Regions from separate parts of the Homo sapiens genome. Here region 1 is linked to region 2. The links are contacts of gene promoters, found by promoter capture Hi-C in blood cells and fetal thymus (Javierre and others, 2016). All regions are on one chromosome and are shown on one strand. Each heading gives the region's core, a stretch centred on a gene start or on the middle of the fragment in contact. The rest is flanking DNA. Distances are from core to core; before and after follow the strand shown. Region 1 overlaps DNPEP-AS1 (DNPEP antisense RNA 1). Region 2 holds the start of OBSL1 (obscurin like cytoskeletal adaptor 1).

The links. The method cuts DNA at HindIII sites, captures the fragments that hold promoters and counts their contacts. A CHiCAGO score of 5 or more calls a contact.
Region 1: a fragment that was not itself captured here is called in contact with the fragment with the promoter of OBSL1 in region 2 in 4 of 17 cell types (M2 macrophages, activated CD4 T cells, M1 macrophages and 1 more); the score reaches 5.6 in M2 macrophages.

What each region holds. Positions count from the first base shown.
Region 1 is chr2:219,393,331-219,399,393 of GRCh38, reverse strand. The region is part of intron 2 of DNPEP-AS1 (DNPEP antisense RNA 1); the gene reads right to left. It also overlaps a transcript of DNPEP not described here. Among named protein-coding and RNA genes, the nearest start is that of DNPEP-AS1, 7.8 kb to the right of the region's middle. The HindIII fragment of the contact is 1,761 bases long and covers 370-2,130 here.
Region 2 is chr2:219,568,741-219,574,664 of GRCh38, reverse strand. OBSL1 (obscurin like cytoskeletal adaptor 1) reads left to right here and starts at 3,126. Exons shown (of 21, transcript NM_015311.3): 1 at 3,126-4,444. The coding sequence starts at 3,433. It overlaps INHA (inhibin subunit alpha), which reads right to left and starts at 2,355. Exons shown (of 2, transcript NM_002191.4): 1 at 2,023-2,355. The coding sequence starts at 2,290. RefSeq lists enhancers at 2,364-2,658, 3,345-4,182, 4,183-5,020. The HindIII fragment of the contact is 22,564 bases long and covers 1-5,924 here.

The DNA of each region.
Region 1 (6,063 bases), core at 1-2,500, 170 kb after region 2:
CGCACCCTAAACACTGCCTTAGAGTTTAAACACCTGCCAGTTTCCAAGCCCCATGCCTGGTGGACCAGGGTGGGTCGGTTTCTGTTTGAGATAGGTGTTGGCCTTTGATATTTTTATTACTGATGAAAAGCCATGATTCATAAGCTGCTGGTGGCCAGCTGTCAGCTTGGAAAGGAGTCAGAGGCCACTGAGAACAGAATTGCCTATCTTTTCAACCCATCTATAAAATGCCTACCTGGGCAGACACTGTTTAAAGGCCATTAAAATAGCAGACACAGAATCACCCAGTCCCTGGAACTTCATAGACATATTTACTCAAACTTAAGTGCTTGCAAGGAGTAAATAAACGGGAAGCAAAATGAGTAAGCTTCCCTAGAAATACGAACTGAAAGTAAACAGCCCTGTTCACTAAAATAAACAAGACAAATCCAGCGAGGATTAAATGACCTCTAGTCAGGTTGAGAGCCAGAAATGCCCCATCTTGGCTCCCAGAGGAAGGCGAGGGCCTGTGCCTGCCACCTGGAGGGGGTGCATCAGAAGCTGCATTCCTTGGGGGCTCAGAGGTGGGCCTGCAAGGGCAGACATTACCCTTGGGTGGTAGGAGTGCACCCCAGACCCCCCTGGCATCCTGCCACAGGGCCTGAAAACCCTCATGTTTAAAGATTAAGAAGTATGTCCTAAAAGTCTTCTGAAAAAGTCCAGGTTTTCTAGAGACATATTACCCTAGTTACTTTTTTTTTTTTTGAGATGGAGTCTTGCTCTGTCGCCCAGGCTGGAGTGCAGTGGTGCAATCTCGGCTCACTGCAACCTCCATCTCCTGGGTTCAAGCGATTCTCCTGCCTCATCCTCCCAAGTAGCTAGGATTACAGGCATGTACCACCACACCCAGCTCATTTTTGTATTTTTAGTAGAGACAGGGTTTCACCATGTTGGCCAGACTGGCCTCGAACCCCTGACCTCAGGTGATCCACCCGCCTTGGCCTCCCAGAGTGCTGGGATTACAGGCGTGAGCCAACGCGCCCGGCCCCAAGTTACTATTATTTGCCATTTATTCACTAATTTAGTAAACATTCATTGAGAACCTACTACATGTCAGGCCAGGCACTAAAGATATCAAGATGATTAGCGCAGCGACCTGCCCTTAAGTTGCTCACGGTTCAAAATGAGAGATAATACTAGCTCACAAGTACTGCCCACTTAACTATTTGAAGAACTCAGTGATGAGCACCCTACGTGCATTATCCCATTTACTCCTCATAACATTATGAGGTTATGACTATCTTCCACCGGTTTACAGATGAGGAAGCTAAGGCTCTAAGTCTGTGGTGTGATGGTAGATGTTTAACAGCTAGCTCTCTGGGCCAGGTGTGATGGCTCACAACTGTAATCCTAACACTTTGGGAGGCCAAGATGGGAGGACTGCTTGAGCCCAGGTGTTTGCCGCCAGTGCGGGCAACATACTGAAACTCCATCTAAAATTAAAAATTAAAAAAAAAAGAAAAGCATCCAGGCACAGTGGCTCATGCCTGTAATCCCAGCACTTTGGGAGGCCGAGGCGGGTGAATCACTTGAGGTCAGGAGTTTAAGAACAGCCTGGCCAACATGGCAAAACCTTGTCTCTACTAAAAATACAAAAATTAGCCAGGCATGGTGGCACATGCCTGTAACCCTTGCTAATCTCCAATCTCATGACTTTAAATAGCATCTGTACCCCGATAATTGTCAAATTTACATACCCCCAGCCCAGATATCTCTTCTGAACTATATATAATCTCACATATCCAATTGTTTTTGCACAGTGTCCGTGTGGGCCTAATAGGAATCTCCAGTGTAATGTCTTAATCTGAACTCCTTGTTCCCCAAACCTATTCCACCCACATTCTTGATCATATGGAGGCTACTTGGAAGGCTGAAGCACGAGAATCACTTGAATCCAGGAGGCTGAAGTTGCAGTGAGCCAAGATCACGCCACTGTACTCCAGCCTGGGCAACAGAGCAAAACTCTGTCTCAAAAAATAAAACAAAACAAAACAAAAAACCAATTAGCTCTCTGGAAGAAAAAAAAAATGCCCTGATTTGTAGTGTTTGCCAGTCTCAGTGGTGTAAATACTTGCAGGCCTGTCTCAAGCTTCCTGTCTGATGTCTCTGAATGTGGAACAGGAAAGAGACGGGGGTGGGAGGGGAGGGGAGGGGGGCTGGCTCTGGCACAACACGGCAAATACGACCCACAGCTAATAAATGCAGGAGCCAGGATGTGAGCCCGGTGTGTGGATCCTGAGCCCACGCTCATAACCACTTTGTTATACTGTCACTAACTATACAAGAGCATTGACATTCAAGGGGGATACATCTTAAGACCTTTGTGAAGTGCCAGTTTTACAGTGTTCCATAAAACTTGCAAGGTTAGTAACCAGCACTTTCCTATACCTCTTTGTTTTCATCACTAACAGGAGCAGTTGGTTTTCCTTTGAGGGCCATTCTGAAAACCTTTTTATTTGGAAATAATTTTACCTTCCCAAGAGGTTGCAGAAATTGTACATGGAGGTCTGTGTGCCCTCCACTCAGTTTCCCCAGATGGTTACATCTTAGATAAGCACAGCACAGTATTACACTCAGGAAAGTGACACAGGTAAAATGTGTGTGCGTAGGGTTTGATGCTATTTTTTTCTAGGTTTGCCAGATTTAGCAAATGAAAATACAGGAAACTCAGTTAAATTTTGTTTTTAGTATAAGCATATCCCATGCAATATTTGGGACATACTTATACTGAAAAGATTATTCCTTATCTTTTTTTTTCTTTTTTTTTGAGATGGAGTCTTGCTCTGTTGCCCAGGCTAGAGTGTAGTGGTACGATCTCAGCTCACTTCAACCTCCACCTCCCAAGTTCATGCGATTCTCCTGCCTCAGCCTCCCTAGTAGCTGGGATTACAGGTGCCCGCTACCATGCCTGGCTAATTTTTGTATTTTTAGTAGAGATGGGGCTTCACCATGTTGGTAAGGCTGGTCTCGAACTCCTGACCTCAAGTGATCCGCCTGCCTTGGCCTCCCAAAGTGCTGGGATTAGAGGTGTAAGCCACCCACGCCCAGCCCTTGTTTATCTTAAATTCAAATTAAACTGGGCATTCTGTATTTCATTTGGCAACCCTAACTTTATCATGGTTAGAGTCATAACCACCATTATAATCAAGACATAGAACTATCCATCACCATCAAGATATTCCTGAGCTACTCCTTCATAGTCACACATCCCTCCCCAAATCCTCCCTAGCCCTGAGCAACCACTAATCTGTTCTCCATCTCTATAATTTTGTCATTTTTTTCACTCAGCATAAGGCACCTGAGATCCATCCACAGCGTTGCATTTAGCAACCACTCGTTCCTTTTTATCGCTGAGTATTATCCCATGAGGGCCCTTTTTCACAAAGAACAATTATTTTTCAAAATTTCTTTAATTCAGTAAGTGTTTATTGTATATCCACTACCTGCCAGGCACTGAGGATTGCAGCAGCAAAGTAAAATTGATTACATGTCACAGGCCAGCAGGTTACTTCCAGTTGACAGAGACTTCTTCCTGTGGATCCTAAGACAGGAGATGACACTGGCGCTAGGAGAGGAGGATTGGCCTCCCTAAGCACTTCCCTCTGGAGATGCTAGGGAAGGCTTTGTGAAGGAGCTTGGGAGGCAGGGTTTGCTGATGGATCTGACATGGGGTGCAAGAGAAAGAGATGCACCAAGGCTAACGCCAAGAGTTATGACCTGAAACTGGAAGGACAAAGTTGCCATTTACTGAATGTATGGCAGATGCACCTGACAGCAATAACTGAAGCACACCCTGAGAATGACCCTGAATGGCAGATATACTTGATGTGTGTTTGGAGTTCTGAGCTAAGAAATCCTGGAGTGGGCAACCTAGAGATCCTCATCTATGAGGAACCTCTGAGCCCCCTTCCCATCCTGTGGAACAAGGGCCATACAGGGGATCAAGGCGCTTTGTTTTGGGTTAAATGAAGGTTGCCAGGTAGAGGTTGTTAGGGAGCAGGTGTTGAGTGAAAATGCGTGCTTTCTGCAGGTGACAGTGGTTCTACTGTCCAGCTCGCCACCACTGGACCATCTTGTATGTAAGTTCTCCTCAATAGACCCCACGTCGGCCGGGCCCAGTGGCTCACGCCTGTGATCCCAGCACTTCGGGAGGCTGAGGAGGGCAGATTGCTTGAGGTCAGGAGTTCGAGACCAGCCTGGCCAACATAGTGAAACCCTGTCTCTACTAAAAATACAAAATTAGCTGGGCATGGTGGTGCATGTCTGTAATCCTCAGGAGGCTGAGGCAGGAGAATCACTTGAACACAGGAGGTGGAGGTTGCAGTGAACCGAGATCGCACCACTGCACTCCAGCCTGGGCAACAGAGTGAGACTCCCTCTCAAAAAAAAAAAAACCTTGTCTTGTTTGCTGGCTCTGGGTCTCTTCTTTGGCCTCTTGAACCTGGGGCCTTCCTTATTGGAGTGGACAGGGGTTCAGCACAACACTGAGATGGGAAGAATGTGGATGGAATAGGTTTGGGGAACAAGGAGTTCAGATTAAGACATATTACACTGGAGATTCCTATTAGGCACACATATGGAGACTGTGCAAAAACAATTGGATATATGAGAATATATATAGTTCAGAAGAGATATCTGGGCTAGGGATACATAAATTTGACAATTGTCAGGGTATGGATACTATTTAAAGTCATGAGATTGGACATTAGCAAGGGAGTGAGGGTAGAGAGATTTCTAAGCACTGAGCCCTGAGGCCTTCCATTTAAAGATGGGAGATGAGGCCAGGCACCGTGGCTCATGCCTGTAATCCCAGCAGTTTGGGAGCCCCAGGTAAGAGTATCGCTTGAGGTCAAAGTTGGAGGCCAGCCTGGCCAACAAAGTGAGACCTCATCTCTATTTTAAAAACATGAATATAATAAAATAATAACAACATTAAAGATGGGAGATGAGGAGGAGCCAGAAGAGACCCAAAGGAGTGGTGGTGAGGGTAGTAAGTGTCTGGAAGGCCAAGTGAAGAGAGTGTTCCCAGGAGAGCAAACGGCTATGTCAAATAGGACCCATGGGTCAACGACAATGGGGACTGAAAATCGACCATTGGGTTCAGCATTGTGGAGGTTGCTTTTGACCTTGACAAGAAAAGTTGCGGTGGAATGACAGCGGTAAAACCTCATTCTAGAGGATTTACAAGAGAATGGGAGGAGAGGAATCGGGAAAACATAAGACTAGATAGTTCTTTTTAAAAGAGATTTACATAAAGAGGAGAAGGAAAATGAGGCCACTGCTGGAGGGAGACTGGGGGTTAAGGGAGGATTATTTTTTCTTGGGAGAAATTATAGCACATGTATATGCTAATCAGCTTGACCCGCCAGAACTGTGGAGATTGATAATGCAGGAGAAAGGGAAGAAGAGTTGATATGGTGCCCTTACGTAAGCAAGAGGGGTGGAATCTTGTGCACAAGTGGAGAGGGTGGCCTTGGATAGGAGCACAGATGGTTCACCCACAGAAATGAGGACAGCAGAATATGGAGCTCAGATCCTGGTAGGAGCCTAGGCGTGGCAGCTTAAAACTTGCGGAAATTCTCTTTTGAAGGCTTCTATTTTCACAGTAAAATGGGAACCATGGTCCTCGGCTGAGAGTGGGGATGGAGGAAGACACTGGATGAAACTCTCCTCCAGGAAAGCAAAGAAGCAAATGGCCCAGGAGATGCAATAGGACCTCTGGGCAGTACAAAGAACACACTTAGGTTAGTGGTTGAGTTTAAAGCAAGCTTGTCCAGCTGGGTGTGGTGGCTCACACCTGTAATCCCAGCACTTTGGGAGGCCAAGGCAGATGGATCACTTGAGGTCAGGAGGTCGAGACCAGCCTGGCCAACATGGTGAAACCCTGTCTCTACTAAAAATACAGAAATTAGCCAGGCATGGTGGCTCATGCTTGTAATCACAGCTACTTGAGAGGCTGAGGCAGAAGAATCGCTTGAACCCAGGAGGCAGAGGTTGTGGTGAACTGAGATCATGCCACTGCAC
Region 2 (5,924 bases), core at 1,877-4,376:
CAGCCCTGACTGGCAGGACCTGGCACCCCTCCTCTTCAGCAGGAGGGATGTGGCCACCAGTCATGAGCCAATGATGGGCTGCACTCTGCTCCACGCCCTCCGGGACGTGGGGACTCTCCTGAGTTTTGGGAGAGCTTCTGTAGGCTTCCCATTTTTTAATTTCATCATGAAGGGACTTAAAAAAATAGAAGACATTGCCAACTTCTCTCTGAAGTGGTTTTACCAATTAACATGCCCATCAGCAGTGTGTAAGAGGCCCTCTCTCCACTTCACCAGCACTAAGACTTTGTATTAGACTTCAATGCTTACTCACCAGATAGTGTGAAACAGTATCCTGAATGGTGTCTACATGGATGGTTGTTATATTCTTTTTTTTTTTTTTTTTTGAGACAGAGTCTTACTGTGTCACCCAGGCTGGAGTGCAGTGGCATGATCACGGCTCACTGCAGCGTCTACCTCCTGGGCTCAAGCAATCCTCCCACCTCAGCCTCCTGAGTAACTGAGACCACAGGCGTGTGCTACCACACCTAGCTAACTTTTGTGGGTTTTGTAGAGACAGGGTCTCGCTATGTTGCCCAGGCTGATCTCAAACTCCTGAGCTCAAGCAATCTGCCTGCCTTCACCTTCCAAAGTGCTGGGATTATAGGCGTGAGCCATCACACCCAGCCATATTACCATTTTTTTTTTTTTTTTGAGATGGAGTCTAGCTCTGTCGCCCAGGCTGGAGTGCAGTGGCGCCATCTCGGCTCACTGCAACCTCTGCCTTCCGCTCCGCCTCCCACGTTCAAGCAATTCTCCTGCCTCAGCTTCCCGAGTAGCTGGTGCCACCATGCCTGGCTAATTTTTTGTATTTTTAGTAGAGACGGGGTTCACCATGTTAGCCAGGATAGTCTCGATCTCTTGACCTTGTGATCCTCCTGCCTTGGCCTCCCAAAGTGCTGGGAGTACAGACGTGAGCCACCGCGCCCGGCCTATATTACTCTTTATATCTTTGGCATGTCAGGAATATTGTAGGATAAATTCTTTAAAATAATTCCATTTTTAAAAGACAGGTTTACACCAAAAAAAAAAAAAAAAGAAGAAGGAGGGAAAGGCAAGTGGGAAAGGGAAGAAAATGGAGAACAAGGAAGAGGGGGAAGAGAAGGAGGAGGGCTGTAACTCAGAACAGAGGGCAGTCCTTTCAAGAATGTGTAGTTAGCATCCTCACACTGACACACTCATAGACTATACTAATCATCCTGGAGCAGCACTCGTTCATGGACTGGCAATTGGAACTATACTGTTACATGGCTTCTCTCATTATCTAGTCACAATTGGTCCATTTTGCAGATAAGGAAACTGAGGCTTAGAGAGGTGAAATGACGTTCAACGACTAAGTGGCCAGGCTTGGATTTTGCCTGATCCCAAAGCCATCCTTCTCCCCACTGTGCTGCGAACGGACTGAAGTGAGGGAGGCAGGGGTCCTCTCTAAGAGAAAGGTGGACCAGATGACAAGAAAGCCCACCCACAGGAGGGCTTATCCATTCAGTCAGTGGAACAAGGGGGCACATATATGTTGAGACAGGAACTCAAGAGAAGATAGACTAGTTTTCCAGAAAAGTTTCCCAACTAATCTTTTGCCTGTATCTCTGATAGCTTCTCAGTGTCAGCTACCTGGGAGTAAAGAAACAGGGTTTGGAGCAGCGAGCAGAGGCAGAGATAGGAGGAAAGGTGGCAGGAAGGGGCTCAAGCCCAAATATCTCCATCTTTAGAGACCCCCGGTCTCCCAGCGCATACTTCCCAAATGCCTCCCACCTGCCATGCACTCTAGGTACAGCCTCTCACTTAATCCTGAGAGGTGGGCATTAGCCCATTTTACAGATGGGGAGACAGAAGCATAAGGAAGTTTAGTAACTGGCCTATTGCTGCAAAGCAACTGAGTAGCAGGACTAGGATTCAAACCCAGGTCCGCCTGGCCTGCAAACCCATGCTGTGCCTTGCTTTTTCTCAAAGTCATCCTGCCGGTTCCCCCACCCTCGTTACCTGTGGCTGGGAAAAGGATGGCTTGGGAGACATCCTCCTCTTCCTCGGGCTCAGAGCCCCTGTGTGTGAAGCCCCCCAGGGCATGTCTTCGGGGCAGCCGCCTGACTCCAGGGTCCCCACCTTCCCTGGTCACCGCGGGGGGCCCCAAGGCATCCAAGAACAGGGCCCTCACCTTGGCCAGAACAAGTTCCCGGGCCAGCTCCAGCCCCTGGCAGCTGTGCCCACCCTGTGGGGTCAGCAGCAAGAAGAGCAGTAGGTGCAGCACCATAGCTCACCTGGCCCTGCTAGTGGGGAACTCACACCCTGCCCCGTGCCCCTTCTGCCAGGGTCTGCCCAGGGCCTTTCCACTCTCCCCTCCCCATCCCACACCCACCCTCTTCTACCCTTCTCATCCAGTCTTCCCCAGTCCTTTCCACGCCCCACAGTCCGAGTTGCCCCTGCCCGTGGCATTGAGACCTCCTATCTCTGACGCAGATGTCTGTGGCCATGAGCCTTATCTCCCACTCCCGCCAGGGATGTGGGGGAGGGGCTGGGAAGGATTTCGCCTCAAGCGACCTGACTCACACATGCAAACATACAACACCTTCTCCCTACACACACACACACTCACACACACACTCACACACACACTCACACACACACAAATTCTCACACACACACACTCTCTCACACACACACACACAGACACATCCAGAGGTGACATCAGGTGGGACAGGAGCCTGGGAGCTGTAGCCGGCCAGCCCCAGAAAGTGTTATTTGTCAGGGAGACAAAGTGCATCACCCCTCAGACCTTCTGGGGCCCCTTTCAATAAGCAGCTGCTGGCCGGCCAGCCCTTGGGGGCAGGGCTGGAACCGGGGCTAGAACCGGGGCTAGGGCCGGGGGCAGGTGGTCCTGCCTGCTCTATACTTAGACCAGTGGAGCCAGTCTGGGCTCTTGTCCTCCAGCTGTGTCATCAGAGAATATTTTTGGGATTGGCAGCTGCAGGCGCCTCTGCCACTCAGGCCCAAGCCTGGCGGGCGGCTGGGGACCTGGCGGCTGGAGGTGGGAGGGAGGAGGGGGAAGAGGCCCAAGCTGTGGGAGGGGGCTGGGAAGAGAGGCTCCTAAGAGCAGGAAGCCAGGCAGCGGGCAGGGGAGGCTGCGGGGCCACTCGCTGGAGAGGCAAACAGGAAGGACTGCCCCCTGAGCGCCAGGCTTCGGGCCCGGGAATCGCCGCCGCCGCCGCCGCAGAGCTGCAGCTCGGGGCCGAGGGTAAGGAGGCGAGCCGGGAGCGGGAGGCCCGGGAGAGCTCCGCGGGTCCCCGCGCCCAGTCCCCAGCCGCGCCCCGACCCCGCCGCCCCGGGCCTCGGCTCGCCCTCCGCACCCCCCCCTGCCCCCCCACCGTTCGCCGCTGCAGGCGGTCGGCCGCCGCGATGAAGGCGAGCTCGGGGGATCAGGGGAGCCCCCCGTGCTTCCTGCGCTTCCCGCGGCCTGTGCGGGTGGTAAGTGGCGCCGAGGCCGAGCTCAAGTGCGTGGTCCTGGGGGAGCCGCCGCCTGTAGTGGTGTGGGAGAAGGGCGGGCAGCAGCTGGCGGCCTCGGAACGCCTGAGCTTCCCGGCGGACGGCGCGGAGCACGGCCTGCTGCTGACCGCCGCACTGCCCACCGACGCGGGGGTCTACGTGTGCCGCGCCCGCAACGCGGCCGGCGAGGCCTACGCGGCGGCCGCCGTCACCGTGCTGGAGCCGCCGGCCTCCGACCCCGAGCTGCAGCCCGCCGAGCGCCCGCTGCCATCGCCGGGGTCCGGGGAGGGCGCCCCGGTCTTCCTCACGGGGCCTCGATCCCAGTGGGTGCTGCGGGGGGCGGAGGTGGTGCTGACGTGCCGGGCGGGGGGCCTCCCCGAGCCCACACTGTACTGGGAGAAGGACGGGATGGCCCTGGACGAAGTGTGGGACAGCAGCCACTTCGCGCTCCAGCCGGGCCGCGCCGAGGACGGCCCCGGCGCGAGCCTGGCACTGCGCATCCTGGCGGCTCGGCTGCCGGATTCCGGCGTCTACGTGTGCCACGCCCGCAACGCGCACGGCCACGCGCAGGCGGGGGCGCTGCTCCAGGTGCACCAGCCCCCCGAGAGCCCGCCCGCGGACCCCGACGAGGCCCCCGCGCCGGTGGTGGAGCCGCTCAAGTGCGCGCCTAAGACCTTCTGGGTGAACGAGGGCAAGCACGCCAAGTTCCGCTGCTACGTGATGGGCAAGCCCGAGCCCGAGATCGAATGGCACTGGGAGGGCCGCCCGCTGCTCCCGGACCGCCGCCGCCTCATGTACCGCGACCGCGACGGCGGCTTCGTGCTCAAGGTGCTTTACTGCCAGGCCAAGGATCGTGGGCTCTACGTCTGCGCCGCGCGCAACTCGGCGGGCCAGACGCTCAGTGCCGTGCAGCTGCACGTGAAAGGTACGGCGGAGCCCGGGACCTAGGGAGGGGCCTCGAGTGTCCTCCGAGGCCCTCCGAACTCCAGCCCTCCTCGGTGCCCAGCGCTGCCCCCAAGACTGGAGGAGAGGTGGTCCGCGGGAATATTAAAATACCAAACCCGCCCGCCTCTCACTCCCCAGGGATTCGGATTTAGTAGGTCTCCAGGGTACTCAGGAACTTCTTAGCAAACTCCTTAAATGATTCCGAGGCAGATGGTGGAACACCACTAAGGAGTGATTGATGTACAAATCCGGAGGGCCCTAGAACTCTTCTTCCCTAGTGGTTTTCAACGTCTTTGTTATTTTACTCCTCCTTCCCCCACTGAATTCACAACCAGAGCCCCAATATATGAGACAGATAAAGGAGTAGTTTATGGGCGTAAATTGCTGAGTCTACGTATATAACAGGTACTTCTAAACCATCAGTGAGAATAAGGAGGCTATTTTATTGAATACAGGAATTTGAATTAAAGGCTGCATTCATGAGACCAGGCTCTGAACCCTGTGGGGACGGCCTGGCTGCATCTGTCACCTTGAGAAACAAGTGATTCAGTGGAAAGCTAGACTTGAGGGAGGACAAATGTCCTGCGTGTTTTTACTATTCTTTGATTAAACTGCTCCCCACGTTTGCAAGAAGAGGAAGGTGAAGGAGAGAAGGTTTATATTTCAAAGTTGAATCACCAACAATATCCAATAAATGGTTACATTCTCATAAACAGAAAATTCCAAAGGAAAAAAAAGCACACCCCAAACTCACCAGAAGGTAACGCTCCCCATAATAGGATTTCATCACAACGCAAAAGAGTACACCTTCACTAGTTATTGTCCAGTTTTTTCTCTTAGAGGAAAAAAAGTTGGTAAATTCTCCTGAGTCCTTCCTAGCATGCAGTCAAGCATGTTGCCCCCAGGCTGCGGTGGTGGCCTCACTGTTACAGTTCAATGCTCACAGATTCATCAGGTTGGTGCTGATCTGGACCTCCATCAGGAAAGAAAAGCCCGGAGGGAAGGCTAGAGGAGCTTCCCCGAGTTGCATACACACACGCACACAAAAACTTGCTTCTCCAGCAGCCCTAGTTAATCCTCTGATTTCCAACATCCTGTTTTCTTTTCTTTTCTTTTTTTTTTTTTGAAATACACTTTTGAAAAGGGTTAAAATAGCTAGGCACAGTGGCTCACCCTGTAATCCCAGCACTTTGGGAGACTAAGGTGGGCGGATCATTTGAGGTCAGGAGTTCGAGAACAGCCTGGCCAACATGGCAAAACCCCATCTCTACTAAAAATACAAAATCATTAGCCAGGCGTGGTGGCGCCTGCCTGTAATCCCAGCTCTACTTGAGAGGCTGAGGCACCAGAATTGCTTGAACCCAGGAGGTGGAGGTTGCAGTGAGCCGAGATTGCGCGACTGCACTCCAGCCTGGGCAACAGAGCGAGACTCCATCTCAAAAAAAAAAAGAGTTAAAATA